2 separate regions of the Homo sapiens genome follow, and region 2 is linked to region 1. Evidence: promoter capture Hi-C in 16 types of primary human blood cells and fetal thymus (Javierre and others, 2016). All regions are on one chromosome and are shown on one strand. Each heading gives the region's core, a stretch centred on a gene start or on the middle of the fragment in contact. The rest is flanking DNA. Distances are from core to core; before and after follow the strand shown. Region 1 holds the start of ZBTB46-AS1 (ZBTB46 antisense RNA 1). Region 2 has its middle 4.1 kb from the start of HELZ2.

Region 1 (7,573 bases), core at 3,581-6,080:
TCATGGTTTACCTTCTTCTGAAAAAATTAAGGTTAAGACATGAATACTGTGAAACTGTCGTACAAATTAAATTTCATATACATCATATTACCATTGTTCGTGGTCGCATTTCAAAATTTTTAAGTGAGCTCCTGACTAGAAAACACTCCAAGACATGTTAGCAGAGTCGTCTTTCGACAGCGAGACCGGTGGTACTATCCACATCATCTCCAGTGAGCAAGTGGGTGCTGGCGATGAGGACTTTAGGTTTTCCACATGGCAGCCCCCATGTGGCCATCTGAAGATGCAAAGCCATGTCTGCCGGCCCCGGGCTGCCCAGGCCCCGGGCTGCCCAGGTCTCTGTCGGAGGCCCTGCCAGCCCCGCCCCTCCCTGCCCACTGGCCCCTTTCAGTTCCTTCATCTCCAGCCCGGCTCTGACGCCCAGGCCGCCTCCTCCGCCTTCCCGAACCTGGCTACCGTCACTTCCTTCTTTTTGTTTTTGTAATGGGGTCTCACTCTGTCCCCCAGGCTGGAGTGCAGTGGCGCAATCTCGGCTCACTGCAGCCTCAACCTCCCAGGCTCAAGGCATCCTCCCACATCAGCCTCCTGAGCAGCTGGGACCACAGGGGCACGCCACCACACGGGCTAATTTTTTTGTTTTGTAGAGACGGGGTTCTGTCGTGTTGCCCAGGTTGGTCTTGAATTCCTAAACGAACCTGCCGCCCTGGCTTCTCAAAGCGCTGGGATGATAGGCGTGAGCCACTGCACCGACATAACGTCACTTCCTTCTGTCGGGCGTCCCCAGCCAGAGCCCAGCACGCTTCCCCTTTCCAAACACCTCTCACTGCCCTGCGCTGTCCCATCTCAGCCCCAGCCACCAGGGTCTCGGTGGGCTGTGGGGTCCCTGAATGGAGGGGCTTCCACTCCCACCTCAGCAGCTCCAGGCCTCAGCATCCCTCCAGCTCCAGCCAGGTGCCCACCAGTCACACGCAGGGGAAGCCTGGAGCAGTGCCTGGCTCGGGCCATGTGTGAGGGTGGCAGGGGTGCCTCCAGATGGGCACAAGGTGCTCTGGGCACCCAGGAGGGGGCCGGGGCAGCTGAGCTCCTAGTCTGTCATTTGGGTTATAGATGACACAGTGGAACAGGTCAGATCTGTAAAGGCGAATCCTGCCATGAATCACAACAGCAGTCCTGAGCCCTCTCAGCCAATGGACACAGCCTCCCCCTCCTCCAGGAAGCCCTCCCGGGCGTCACTGTTCTTACACTGACAGCACACATGCCACCTCGCTGCCTGACACTGCCCTGCCCTCCTCTCAGCCCAGGGACCACATCTCAATGCTGGACAGGCCCAACACATACACTTGGGGTCAACAAAACTACAGTACCAGGCCGGGCACGGTGGCTCACGCCTGTAATCCCAGCACTTTGGGAGGCCAAGGCAGGTGGATCACCAGGTCAAGAGATCGAGACCAGCCTGGCCAACATGGTGAAACCCCGTCTCTACCAAAATTAAAAAAATTAGCCAGGCGTGGTGGGGGGCGCCTGTAGTCCCAGCTACTCGGGAGGCTGAGGCAGGAGAATCGCTATAACCTGGGAGGCGGAGGTTGCAGTGAGCTGAGTTGGCACCACTGCACTCCAGCCTGGGCAACATAGTGAGACTCCGTCTCAAAAAAACAACAACAAAAAAAACCTACATGACTTTTTTTTTTTTTTCTCAGAAGGAGTCTCGCTCTGTTGCCAGGTTGGAGTGCAGTGACACGATCTCAGCTCACTGCAACCTCCACCTCCCGGGTTCAATTGATTCTCCTGCCTCAGCCTCCTGAGTAGCTGACATTACAGGCTCACACCACCATGCCTGGCTAATTTTTGTATTTTTAGTAGAGACGGGGTTTCACCACGTTGGCCAGGATGGTCTCGATCTCTTGACCTCGTGATCCGCCCACCTCGGCCTCCCAAAGTGCTGGGATTACAGGCATGAGCCACCACGCCCGACCTACAGTACCTTTTGAAAATTAAATCTGTAATACTGATTTACAGTATTTCAAAAATGTCTCATACTAAGTGCTGATAGAAGGTAAAATGAAACAGCAGCCGGGCAGTGTGGTACACACCTCTAATCGCAGCACGTTGAGAGGCTGAGGCGGCAGAATCACTTGAGCCCAGGAGTTGCAGGCTGCAGTCAGTGAGCTCCGATTGCACCACTGTGCTCTAGCTGGAGTGACAGAGCAAGACCCCCATCTCTAAAGGAAAAAAAAAGACACAGGGAGGAGAGAAGGTCATGTGACCACAGGCAGAAACTGGAGTGACAAAGTCACAAGCCAAAGGATGCCTGGAGCCACCAGGAGCTGGAAGAGGCAGGAAGGACCCTGCCTGGAGTCTCCAGAGGGAGCATGGCCCTGAGACACCCTGAGTTCCAGCGCTGGACTCTGGAACTGAGAGGAGACACCTCTGCTGCCGCGAGCTGCCCAGCAGGTGGTACTTTCACAGCAGCCCCAGGAAACTAATACACAAAGCCATGCATCAGCTTTTTTTTTTTTTTCCTTTTTTTTGAGACGGAGTCTCGCTCTGTCGCCCAGGCTGGAGGGCAGTGGCACGATCTCGGCTCACTGAAGCCTTCGGCTCACTGCAACCTCCGCCTCCTGGGTTCAAGTGATTCTCGTGCCTCGGCCTCCCCAGTAGCTGGGATTATAGGTGTGTGCCACCACACCCGGATAATTTTTTTGTATTTTTAGTACAGACAGGGTTTCACCATGTTGGCCAGGTTGGTCTCGAACTCCTGACCTCAGGTGCTCTACCCGCCTCCGCCTCCCAAAGTGCTGGGATTACACGCATGAGCCACCATGCCCGGCCCCAACTTTTAAAAATATTATAATTTTCTCAGAAAGCTAATCAGCTGGCTGGGAAAGGTGGCTCACGCCTGTAATCCCAGCATTTTGGGAGGCTGAGACGAGCGGATCACCTGAGGTCAGGAGTTCGAGACCAACCTGGCCAACATAGTGAAACCCCGTCTCTACTAAAAGTTAAAAAAAAAAATTAGCCTGGCATGGTGACGGGTGCCTGTAATCCCAGCTACTCGGGAGGCTGATGCAGGAAAATTGCTTGAACCCGAGAGGCAGAGGTTGCAGTGAGCCGAGAACATATCACTGCACTCCAGCCCAGGCAACAACAGTGAAACTCCATCTCAAAAAAAAAAAAAAAAGAAAGAAAAGAAAGCTAATCAGCTTAACAAGGCAAGAAAACTATTTGTGTACATTTTAAATCTGAGATACTGCTATGGCTAACTCTGACCTGAAATGGTAACTTCAAAAAAAATAGAACCTAAATAAGAAGGTTGTAATACCTGCTTAAAATAAAGGCAACACTATGCTCTCAAGGAATATGATGGAATCTTTCTCTTTTTTTGAGATGGAATCTGGCTCTGTCACCCAGGCTGGAGTGCAACGGTGCGACCTTGGCTCACTAAAACCTCCACCTCCCACGTTCAAGCGATTCTCCTGCCTCAGCCTCCCATGTAGCTGGGACTACAGGCGCCCACCACCACGCCCAGCTAATTGTTTTGTTTTGGTTTTTTTTTTTGAGATGGAGTCTCGCTCTGTCGGCCAGGATGGAGTGCAGTGGCGCCATCTCGGCTCACTGCAAGCTCCGCCTCCCAGGTTCACGCCATTCTCCTGCCTCAGCCTCCTGAGTAGCTGGGACTACCAGCGCCCGCCACCACACCCGGCTAATTTTTTGTATTTTTAGTAGAGACGGGGTTTCACCGTGTTAGCCAGGATAGTCGCGATCTCCTGACCTCATGATGCACCTGCCTCGGCCTCCCAAAGTGCTGGGATTACAGGCGTGAGCCACCACGCCTGGCCAGGATTGGTGTTAATTCTTAAAATGTTTGATAGAATTCAACAGTGAAGTGATATATACAATCATATACATATATAGAGAGAGACAGAGATGGACTTTTCTTTTGTTGGAAGTTTATTGACTATTGATTCAATTTCTTTATTGAAATTGACTTTTCTTTTTGGAAGCTAAAAAGTACAATAACTGTAGTGAAAGTTTCTGAACTTTTCTTTCATTGGAAGTTTTTTGACTACTGATTCTTTATTTGTTATAGGTCTATTCAGATTTTCTGTTTCTTCTTGAGTCAGTTTGGTCTCGCTCTGTCACCCAGGCTGGAGTGCAGTGGCGCCATCTTGGCTCACTGCAACTTCTACCTCCCGAGTTCGAGTGATTCTCCCACCTCAGCCTCCCCAGTATCTCGGACTACAGGCGCACGCCAGCATACCTGGCTAATTTTTGCATTTTTAGTAGGAACGGGGTTTCACCATGTTGGCCAGGCTGGTCTCGAACTCCTGGCCTCAAGCAATCTGCCCGCCTCGGCCTCCCAAAGTGTTGGGACTACAGGTGTGAGCCACCGCGCCCGGCCTTCAGCTACTCCATTTTTTAACATTTTGCCGCATTTGTTTACATCAAGCAATATGATAGAATCCCTAACCAGTTACTTTTTGCTTAAAAGCTGTACTAGGCCAAAACAAGCGAAGCACCCGTCTGTGTGAGGCAGCGGGTCTGGCTTACAGGCGGCGCCTCAGGGCTCGCTCCCCCTCCGAGCGGGTCTCACTCCCAGAGCGGGGCTCGCCCGGTGTCTGGCCTCCGAGGCCGTGTGCCCAAGTCCCCACCTTGTGCGGCACAGGCCCTTCCCACAGGGGACACTCACGGAAGCTGAACGGACCTTCCCACAGGAGACACTCACGGAAGCTGAACGGACCTTCCCACAGGGGACACTCACGGAAGCTGAACGGACCTTCCCACAGGGGACACTCACGGAAGCTGAACGGACCTTCCCACAGGGGACACTCACGGAAGCTGAACGGACCGACGGAGGTGGCGTGGATGAGCAGCAGCCGCCTGAGCAGTGAGGAAACCCCGCGGACAGCGCGGTAAGGACCCCACCCAGATTACTGGATTTCACCACCGGCCGCCTTCGATGGAGGAGTCCTCAGTCTCCACATCCGCACGGCACAGACGGAGGGGGGGCCCATGGGGCCCCAGCGATGAACCTGTCAGGGGTCCCCTGTACCCTGTAGGCCAGTCAAGCCATCCTTCCCAGCCCTTGCCCCGGGGGCTGAGCGCAGGGGAGGGCCCGGAAGGCAGACGCCACGGAGCCCGGGGCTTCAGGGGGGCGTGGGGCGGAAGCGGGGCCAGGGCGGAGGTCACGGACAGGGTCATCCGGACCCACAAGGAGTCTCAGCCCCGGGCCCGGCGGGAGGGAAGGGGGAAGCCAGGCTCTTCCTCCTAGGGCAGGGCCTGGGCTCCGGGGCAGTGTGACCTCCCGCCCCTAAGCGAGTCCTGCCTCCCCATGAGACCTGAGCTCCTCCAGCGTGGGTGGGAGGCGGACAGAGCCTCCCCCAGAGAAGGCCCTCCTCGGTCCAGCGCTCGGCCAGGACAGGCGCCAAGGCCGCCTTAAGAAATAAAACCAGCAGGCGCGGTGGCTCACGCCTGTAATCCCAGCACTTTGGGAGGCCGAGGCGGGCGGATGGTGAGGTCAGGAGATCAAGACCATCCTGGCTAACATGGTGAAACCCCGTCTCTACTAAAAAATACAAAAAAAAATTAGCCGGGCGTGGTGGGGGCGCCTGCAGTCCCAGCTACTCGGGAGGCTGAGGCAGGAGAATGGCGGGAACCCGGGGGGCGGAGCTTGCGGTGAGCCGAGATGGCGCCACTGCACTCCAGCCTGGGCGGCAGAGCGAGACTCCGCTTCAAAAAAAAAAAAAAAAAAAAAAAGAAAAAGAAAAAAAAAAAAGAAAGAAAACTCCATGATTCATGAGGTAAGACCTGGGAGCTGGCGGCTCGGTGCTCCGGTGCTGCAGAGGCACTCAAGGGGCTCTCCACGTTCGCCTTCCACGTTCCCCTTCGCAGGGACCGCAGCGCCTGGGGCACTTCGCCATGGGCTTGGCCGAAGTGGGCACTAAAGGTGCAGACTCGGTGGAGCCAAGGGGGGCAAGGTCAGCAGCCCTGGGGGCGCAGCCCTGGGGGCCCCGCCGTGGGCCACGCCCAGCGCGTCCAGTCCTCATGGCCGCGTCTATTCCAGGAATGGGGTCCTGGGGTTCGGCACAGGCCTGCTGGGGTGGTGGCCCCACATCTTGCCTGTGTCCCCCCATATTATGCCCAAGGGAGCAACAAAGGCCACCCCTGGGTCCAGGCCTCAGGAGCTCACAGGAGCCCTGAGCCCAGAAGACAGCAGCGCCCTCACGCGGTCCTCAGCAAACCTGCCAGAGCCCAGCAGGTGGAGAGGACTCCGGGAGACAGCAGGAGCTCCGCGACCTCCCTTCCTCTCCCCTCTTCTCCCTTACGAAGTTAGCCGTGTGGTGGCCAGTGTGGCTTAACTCAATGATACAATTTTAAAGATTTCTGGAAAGGACTTAAAAGACACGTGCTTAACTCTGAGAAAAGATTTCAAGGCCAGGCCAGAATGGTGGCTCATGCCTGAAATCCCAACGCTGAGGGAAGCCGGGGCGAGCAGATGGCTTGAGCCCAAAAGTTCAAGACCAGCCTGGGCAACATGGTGAGACCCCATCTCTACAAAAAATAGAAAAAATTAGCCGGGCATGGTGGTGCACACCTGTAGTCCCCGCGACTCTGGAGGATGAAGTGGGAGGATCCCTTGAGTCGGGAGGTCGAGGTTGGAGTGAGCCAAGATGGCACCACTGTACTCCGGCATGGGTGACACAGCAAGGCCCTCTCTCAAAAAAAAAAAAAGAAAAGAAAACTCTAAATACATGGAACTGGCAAACATTAACGTAATGTCAATTACAAAGGTGGCCGTGACACAGGAGGCCCAGAGTGGGGCGGCCCTTGAAGCAGCCTGCAGCGTGGGGATGAGGCCTACAGATGCCTCTGCCTCTTTGACTAATTCCACTTCTGAGACTCTGCCCCAAGGAAATAACCCAAAAAGCTAATTGGTTCCAAGATGTTCCAAGCACTGCTATGGCTAACAGTGACAAACAGAAAAAGACCCAAACACTCGACAATTCGAAGATGGCCCAGAAAACCGTCAAGTATTAAAACTGAGCAAAACCCAATTCCAGGAACATTAAAAATGCCAGTCACGTGGATGCTTAGAAGTTTATCAGAAATTAACGGGAAGAAATGAGAACAGAAAGCCCAGCTGGTCGTGTCTGCACAAGCTCACACACACCGACCACACTCAGGATAGGCACCAAAACCCCCCTTCCCCTCGCAAACCAAGGTCCTTATTCATAAAACACAAATGTAATCCTAGCACTTTGGGAGGCTGAGACAGGTGGATCATATGAGATCAGGAGTTTGAGACCGTCCTGGCCTACATAACGAAACTCTGTCTTTACTAAAAATATTAAAATTAGCTGGGCGTGGTGGCACGCACCTATAATCCCAGCTACTAGGGAGGCAGAGGCAGGAGAATCGTTTGAACATGGGAGGCAGAGGTTACAGTGAGCCAAAATTGTGCCACTGCACTCCAGTCTGGGCAACAGAGTGAGACTCTGTCTCAAAAAACAAAAAAATAAATAAAAATAAAACACAAACGCGAGAACGTGCCCACCAGCACAGATGCAGGGTAGGA
Region 2 (7,573 bases), core at 3,025-5,524, 230 kb before region 1:
TGGACGGCAGGATGGTCTGGTGACTCCACCATCAGCCCCTGGAGAAATCCAGGCACAGCTGACCTGGAAGCCTGGGTCCCCTGACAGGCAGGACCTGCCCGTGGCCCTGGTGCTGCTGGGACCCCAAGTCCCTTCTGTCACCAACCAGGATATGGCAGGAATGGCTAAGTGGCCGCCGGGTCCCAGAGTCAGCACGCCTGGCTCTTGGCTCTCTGGACTGGCTCTGGGCCCTCAGCAGCCCTGTGGGGAGGCCCCATAGAGGAGCTGAGGCCTCCAGCCCACTTGCAGCTCGAGTCCCAGCCCCAGCCTTACTGCCATCTCAGGGAGACCCCAGGCCTAACCCTCCCACCTAGACCACGCCCAGCTGTTAGATGTCTATGTTTAAAATAAACGTCCCATTAGCCAGGGGTGGGGGCGGGCGCCTGTAGTCCCAGTTACTCGGGAGGCTGAGGCAGAAGCATTGCTTGAACCAAGGAAGTGGAGGTTGCAGTGCGCCAAGATTGCGCCACTGCACTCCAGCCTGGGCAACAGAGCAAGACTCCATCTCAAAACAAATAAATAAATAAAATAAACATCTGTGTTGTTTTAAGCCCCTGAGCTTTGGGGCGATCTGTTCTGCAGCAGTAGATAACGGACAGTGATGCTGCCCCTGAAACAAGGAAGCAAGGCTGCCACCCAAGGCCAGCACCTCGTGGGGAGGGCCAGGCTGGGGGCTCACAGCGACCTCGGGAGGTCGGCTGGGTGGGCCGTCAACCACCAGGGAGCCTCTCCGCAGACCAATCACGTTGGAGCTCCTGGGAGAGGGCAGGCCCTCGACAATAGCAGCCCCAGGGGCCGGGCGCTGAGCAGGGTCCATGTGCGTGGAACGCTGGGAGAATTTGTGTGGAACGCTGTGTTCCTGGATGGAGAGGCTCAACACCACACAAAGACGTGAGTTCCTCCTAAACTAACCTGCAGTCGCATGGTGGACACACTGACTTTCAAGTCCATTTGGAAAAGCATCACATCACCAAGAAAGGCTGGACAGGGCTTTTTTTTTTTTTGAGACTGAGTCTCCTTCCATTGCCCCGGCGGGAGTGCAGTGATGCAATCACAGTTCACTGCAGCCTCGACCTCTGGCTCAGACAGTCTTCCCCCCTCAGCCTCCTGAGTCGCTGGGACTACAGGCACACACCACCACAGTACAGGTGCACACCACCACAGTTAACTATTTTGGAGTTTTTTCTATGTTTTTCAGAGATGGGGTTTCTCAATGTTGCCCAGGCTGCTCTTGAACTCCTGGGCTCAAGCAAACCCCCCACCTCGGCCTCCTTGAGTGCCGGGATTAGATTACAGGCTTGAATCCCAACACCCAGCCCAGGATGATGACTAAAAAGGATTCCCAGCGGGTGCTGGCATGACTTACTAAACACATAACACACTGCAAAGCCACTGAACCCGGTGTGGACACACAGTTCCAAGGCAGAACAGAGAGTCCAGAAATAGAGTCACACTCAGGAGTCTGGGGTGGGATGAAAGATTGGCTCTCGGCCAGGCGCACTGGCTCACGCCTGTAATCCCAGCACTTTGGGAGGCCAAGGTGGGCAGATCACCTGAGGTCAGGAGTTCGAGACCAGCCTGGCCAACATAGTGAAACCCCATCTCTTCTAAAAATACAAAAAAAAAAAAAAAAAATAGCTGGGCGTGGTGGCAGGTGCCTGTAGTCCCAGCTACTCAGGAGGCTGAGGCAGGAGAATCCCTTGAACCTGGGGTCGGGGGGGGCGAGGCGGAGGTTGCAGTAAGCTGAGATCACACCATTGCACTCCAGCCTGGGAGACGGAACGAGACTCTGTCTCAAAAAAAAAAAAAAAGAAAGAAAAGAAAAGAAAAGAAAGCTTGGCTCTCACACCTCAGGGAAAAACAATTCATTGATGCATTCCACAAATTATTAGAACAACTGATTAGCAGCATCTGGAAACAAAAATGGGAGGGACGGTCTCTGCGTAGCATCTTACACCATATGAAATAATCAAACACTCTCACGGAAGGAAAAGCCAACCACAGAGGCACTAGGAGAAACCAGGGCTGAAAGTGTCTGATTCTCAGGACTCTTGGGATGTGAAAGGCCTTTCTAGGTGAAATCCAGCCCTGCGCCACTCGCCCCCAGCCAGGCTCAAGGACAGGGCTGGTGGCTTCACACATGCCGTGAGGGGCAAGCATACACCCCAGAAATCCACAAAACCTGTCTCCTGAAGCACTGTTTTTTTCTTCTTAGAGAACGAATTAAACATCTACCAGCACAACAGTGATAAATTCAATGACACAAAACAATTTCACATGGAAAAAAACACCACCATCAAAGGAGTCAAAAACCAAACATGAACAGAAAACAAAATTGCAGCTTATGTCACAGTGAAAAGTCTGATCGCTCTGATATATATTTTTTTTTCTTGAGACGGAGTCTCACTCTTGTCACCCAGGCTGGAGTGCAGTGGCACAATCTCGGCAAGCTCCACCTCCCGGGTTCACGCCATTCTCCTGCCTCAGTCTCCCAAGTAGCTGGGACTACAGGCGCCCACCACCACGCCTGGCTAATTTTTTGCATTTTTAGTAGAGACGGGGTTTCACCGTGTTAGCTAGGATGGTCTCGATCTCCTGACCTCGTGATCCACCCACCTCGGCCTCCCAAAGTGCTGAGATTACAGGCGTGAGCCACCGCGCCTGGCCCTGATCTCTCTAATATTTTAAAGATCTTATAAATTAAGAAAAAGATGTATAATTTAAAAGAAAAATAGGCAAAGGATGCAAATCAATACTTCACAAAACGTGGAAAGTGAAATTGCTGTAAATGGAGTGAAGTGTTCAACCTCGGCGTAAGGGAAACGCAAACCAGCCCCAGACAACCCGTCCACCCCTCTGACATTGCAGGCACTCGGCCAGAGTCTAAACTGGCAGCACCGCTCTGGAAACCAGCCAGGCCCGGGAGCACAGGACACGCGCCTTCCACGTGGCTCCACAGAGGCTCCTGCACAGAGGGACATCTGTGCCCACCAACAGCTCCCGGCAGCTCCTTCTACACCCAATGGACCGGGAATGCCCAGGGCCCCTCGCTCAGGGTCTATGTAATGGGCAGTCTCCACCCTGTGCCATGGAAGACTCTAAGGCCATTAAAAATGAGGTTGGCCAGGCACGGTGGCTCACACCTGTGATCCCAGCAATTTGGTAGGCTGAGGCGGGAGGATCACTTGAGCCCAGGAGTTCAAGACCTCAGTAAGCTGTGATGGTGCCAGTGCACTCCAGCCTGGGAGACAGATCAGGACTGTGCGGCCAGGACAGGAGGGAGATGTCCTGTTTCCGCCCACCTTTCACATCTGTGCACGTCTTCTTAACTCAAAACAAAAACAAAAAGTGCCACCTCGAGTCCACAGAGCATTGAAAACCTGCAGGTTGCCGTGGACAGCTCTCTGGCTCCCGTCCAGCTGTGCTCAGGCCACAGTGACCCCTAACACGGGCTGAGTGTGAGACCACGGGAGAGAGTTCCACGTACACACAGCACACGGCCAACACGCTCACACGGGCTGAGTGTGACACCACGGGACAGAGTTCCACGTACACACAGCACACGGCCAACAACACGCTCACACGGGCTGAGTGTGAGACCACGGGACAGAGTTCCACGTACACACAGCACACGGCCAACAACACGCTCACACGGGCTGAGTGTGAGACCACGGGAGAGAGTTCCACGTACACACAGCACACGGCCAACAACACGCTCACACGGGCTGAGTATTAGTAATATTATTGTATCCACGTCAGCTTCCTGACTTTGTAACAGACAGCTTCCACGTTCTGAGGAAACACACCTTGAAGTGATGGGGTAAAGGGTGAAGGGTGAAGGGTGAAGGGGTATCGTATCTGAAAGGTGAAGGGGTATCGTGTCTTAGTCTCAATTGCCTGGAACTACAGGCTTCTACAGAACCGGCAAATGGGCCAGAACAAAGCGACTGGTGAGTCCGCATAGAGCACAGGGAGTCCTTTGTTCTATTTTTGCAACATTTGTGTACGTTTGTTTAAATTATTATATCAAAATACAAAGTAAGAAATGTCTGCCCAACACCCTCAGCTTGTCTCATCCCGGTCCCTAGGTCCTCCTCACCCAGCGTCCCTGCCAGTGGGTTCCATGGCCCCCCAGTGCCAGCCTGCCGTCTGCTGCCCTCTGCCGTCTGCCATCACCTGAACCCTGCAGGAAAACGTACACACTGTCCCCAGCGTCACGAAGCAGGTGGAGGTCCCCAGGGCTTAGGGCCAGGCCTCAGTTTACCTGTGACTGTGGGCCATGTGCTCTCGGGCAGGAACTGACGGCCTCTGGGTATAACTCGCTTAAGCAGGTCTTTAACACCCGGTTCCCATCTTTCCAGAGACCCTCCCGGGCGCCCTCCCACCAGCCAAAAGCTCACACCCCTAGTGGAGGAGGTGATAGGGTCTGCAGTGGGAGGGAGTGGAGCCGATTTCAGATCTCCTCCTCTTGGCCTTGTGGGAGCCGTGCAGCCGGGAGGCCTCCTTCGAGATGAGCCCCTGGGGAGAAAGTCAGGGGGACCACACCTTCTCCTTGCAGGGGTGCCAGAAGGATCTGATGGGGGTTTAGTCCCAGGATGGGTCTACGCCCCCCGGGGCCTCCCAGCTGCTCTGTCCTCTCTCCCTGCCTGGCCTCTGCACACACAGCCATGTGCGTGTGACATTGTGAAATATACATTAACATATTTGGTCTCGTCCCGTTTCCTGGCAAAAACCCCTAAAATCCCTGGAGTAGCCAAAGTGGCAAGTGCCTTTTTGTGCTGATATTGACCGAAGGCTGGCAGCCTGGAGGCAGCCTCAGGATGGGGCTGGTCCTCAGAAAGGCCTCAGCAGGAGTAGAGGGTGGTACTTGCAGCCTTGCCCCAACCTCCAGGCAGGGGAGGGGAGAGGCGGCTGAAGGCGGTCCTCACCAGTGGCCAGTGACGTAATCAATCATGCCTGGGTAATGAAGCCTCCATGAAGTCGCAAAAGGACAGGGCTCAGAGAGCCGTGGAGGTTCCTGGACGGGGTGCCCTTGTGGGGTGAAAGCTCTGCGCCCCTCCCCTTACGCATCTCTTCATCTGCGTCCTTTGTAACGTCCTTTATAATAAATGGGTAAACATGTTTCCCTGAGTTCTGTGAGCTGCTCTAGGAAATTAATCTGACCCAAATATGGGGGTTAGGAACCTCAATTTATAGCCAATTGGTCTGAAGCACCCGGGGCTTGAGATTGGCATGGGGAGTGGGCAGCAGCCTTGTGTGGACATCTCCAGGTAGATGAGGATGTCTAAGGACAGATGGCGTCTCCAGCTAGATGGTGTCTCCAGGTAGACAACAACGTCTATGAATTGACGGTGTCTCCAGGTTAACAACAATGTCTCCAGGTTAACAACAATGTCTCCAGGTAGACAACAATGTCTATGAATTGATGGTGTCTCCAGGTTGACAACAATGTCTATGAATTGATGGTGTCTCCAGGTTGACAACAGTGTCTCCAGGTAGACAACAATGTCTCCAGGTTAACAACAATGTCTATGAAAAGACGGTGTCTCCAGGTAGACAACAATGTCTATGAATTGATGGTGTCTCCAGGTTGACAACAATGTTTCCAGGTTAACAACAATGTCTATGAATAGACGGTGTCTCCAGGTTGACAACAATGCCTATGAATAGATGGTGTCTCCAGGTTAACAATAATGTCTCCAGGTAGACAACAACGTCTATGAATTGATGGTGTCTCCAGGTTGACAACAATGTCTCCAGGTTAACAACAATGTCTATAAATTGATGGTGTCTCCAGGTTGACAACAATGTCTATGAATTGATGGTGTCTCCAGGTTAACAATAATGTCTCCAGGTTGACAACAATGTCTATGAATTGATGGTGTCTCCAGGTTGACAACAATGTCTCCAGGTAGATGATGGTGTCTATGGGTGGACAATGTCTCCAGGTTGATCTGGAATCCCTCCCACTGCAGACCCTATCACCTCCTCCACTCAAGGTGTGAGCTTTTGGCTGGTGGGAGGGCGCCCGGGAGGGTCTCTGGAAAGATGGGAACTGGGTGTTAAAGACCTGCTTAAGTGAGTTATACCCAGAGGCCGTCAGTTCCTGCCCGAGAGCACATGGCCCACAGTCACAGGTAAACTGAGGCCTGGCCCTAAGCCCTGGGGACCTCCACCTGCACTGTGATGCTGGGGAGGGTGTGTGGGTTTTCCCGCAGGGTTCGGGTGATAGCGGACGGCACAGGGCAGCAGACAATGGCTCCAAGTAGACGTCTCTAGGTAGATGGTGTCTTCAGGTAGATGGTATCGGAATTAAACTGGAGCACGCCCAGCCGGCGTCGGCTGCAAAACTGACTAATCTGTTGTTGGAACAGAACCCCCACCTGGTGTCAGCAGTGAGCTGTGCTGTGAGAGTGCAGGAGAAACAGCCTAGTTTTCTGACATCATTAGAGGTGATGAGCCACCTTCTCAGCCCCTGCTCACCTCTCCCCCACACTGAAGCCTGCTGGAGCCCTCAGGCCAGGCCCTGAGCAGGAGGCATGGGGTAGGTGTTGCAGGATCTAAAAGGCCTCCCAGGGGCAACAGAGAGCCTGGCCAGGGGCTGTGCCTTTCTCTGCTTGCCCCCACAGCACCCCCAAAGCTTGAGGCTTGATCAGATATCCCTGAGGTCTCCTGGCAGGGACCTTCCTAGTCCTCACTGGCCCCCAGTGTCCCTCTGCCATGTGGCCGCCTCTCCGGGATGACAGGGGGAGGGGCCACACTCCTGCTGGGGCTGGAGATGTTGGGGTCTGGAGTGGGTGTGGGCCTGCCCTGGGGCTGCTCTGGGCATCTGGTTGACACAGAGCCAGGTGCCTGTGCGCCCCGTGGGGCAGCTGTGCCCAGCCTGGCTGCCCTGGAGGAGGGAGCCAAAACCTGGGCCTTTCCACCCAGCCTTCCGGTCTCCCCTCTTCTCCCTGGACATACAGGAATGTGGCTTGCTCCTGACGCCCAGAAGTTCAAGTCCAGAACGTTACTGCAGATGTCGGGAGAGACAAGACAGGACAGAAGGGAGCCTGGGTCAGACCCAGGTCTGCGGTCTGTTGGTCCCCGAAGGGCCTGAGGCGGGGAAAGGACAGTCTTCAACAAGTGGCAGCTGGAACACGGAGTAAAGTTTCGGGAAAAACGAAGCTCAGCCCCACCTCGCATTGCACACAAAATTTAATTCAAGATGGAACATCTAAGCATCAAAGCTAAACTGTAACGCTTCTAGAAGAAAACAGGAGAAATCTTCACAACCTTGGGATAGGCATATATTTTTTTCTTTTCTTTTCTTTTTTTTTTTTTTGAGACAGTCTTGCTCTGTCGCCCAGGCTGGAGTGCAGTGGCGTGATTTTGGCTCACTGCAAGCTCTGCCTCCCGGGTTGATGCCATTCTCCTGCCTCAGCCTCCCGAGTAGCTGGGACTACAGGCGCCCACCACCACGCCCAGCTGATTTTTTGTATTTTTAGTAGAGACGGGGTTTCACCATGTTAGCCAGGATGGTCTTGGTCTCCTG

The links. Contacts are between HindIII fragments. The CHiCAGO score rates a contact against its expected background, and 5 or more counts as called.
Region 2: a contact is called between a fragment that was not itself captured here and the fragment with the promoter of ZBTB46-AS1 in region 1, in 1 of 17 cell types (M2 macrophages). The highest score is 5.2, in M2 macrophages.

Annotation. Positions count from the first base shown.
Region 1 is chr20:63,803,246-63,810,818 of GRCh38, forward strand. It overlaps ZBTB46-AS1 (ZBTB46 antisense RNA 1), which reads left to right and starts at 4,831. Exons shown (of 3, transcript NR_110081.1): 1 at 4,831-4,910. The region is part of intron 1 of ZBTB46 (zinc finger and BTB domain containing 46); the gene reads right to left. The HindIII fragment of the contact is 29,160 bases long and covers 1-7,573 here.
Region 2 is chr20:63,574,529-63,582,101 of GRCh38, forward strand. No RefSeq gene overlaps it. Among named protein-coding and RNA genes, the nearest start is that of HELZ2, 4.1 kb to the left of the region's middle. RefSeq lists silencers at 1-35, 1,145-1,330 and enhancers at 1-547, 6,602-6,781. The HindIII fragment of the contact is 4,805 bases long and covers 1,873-6,677 here.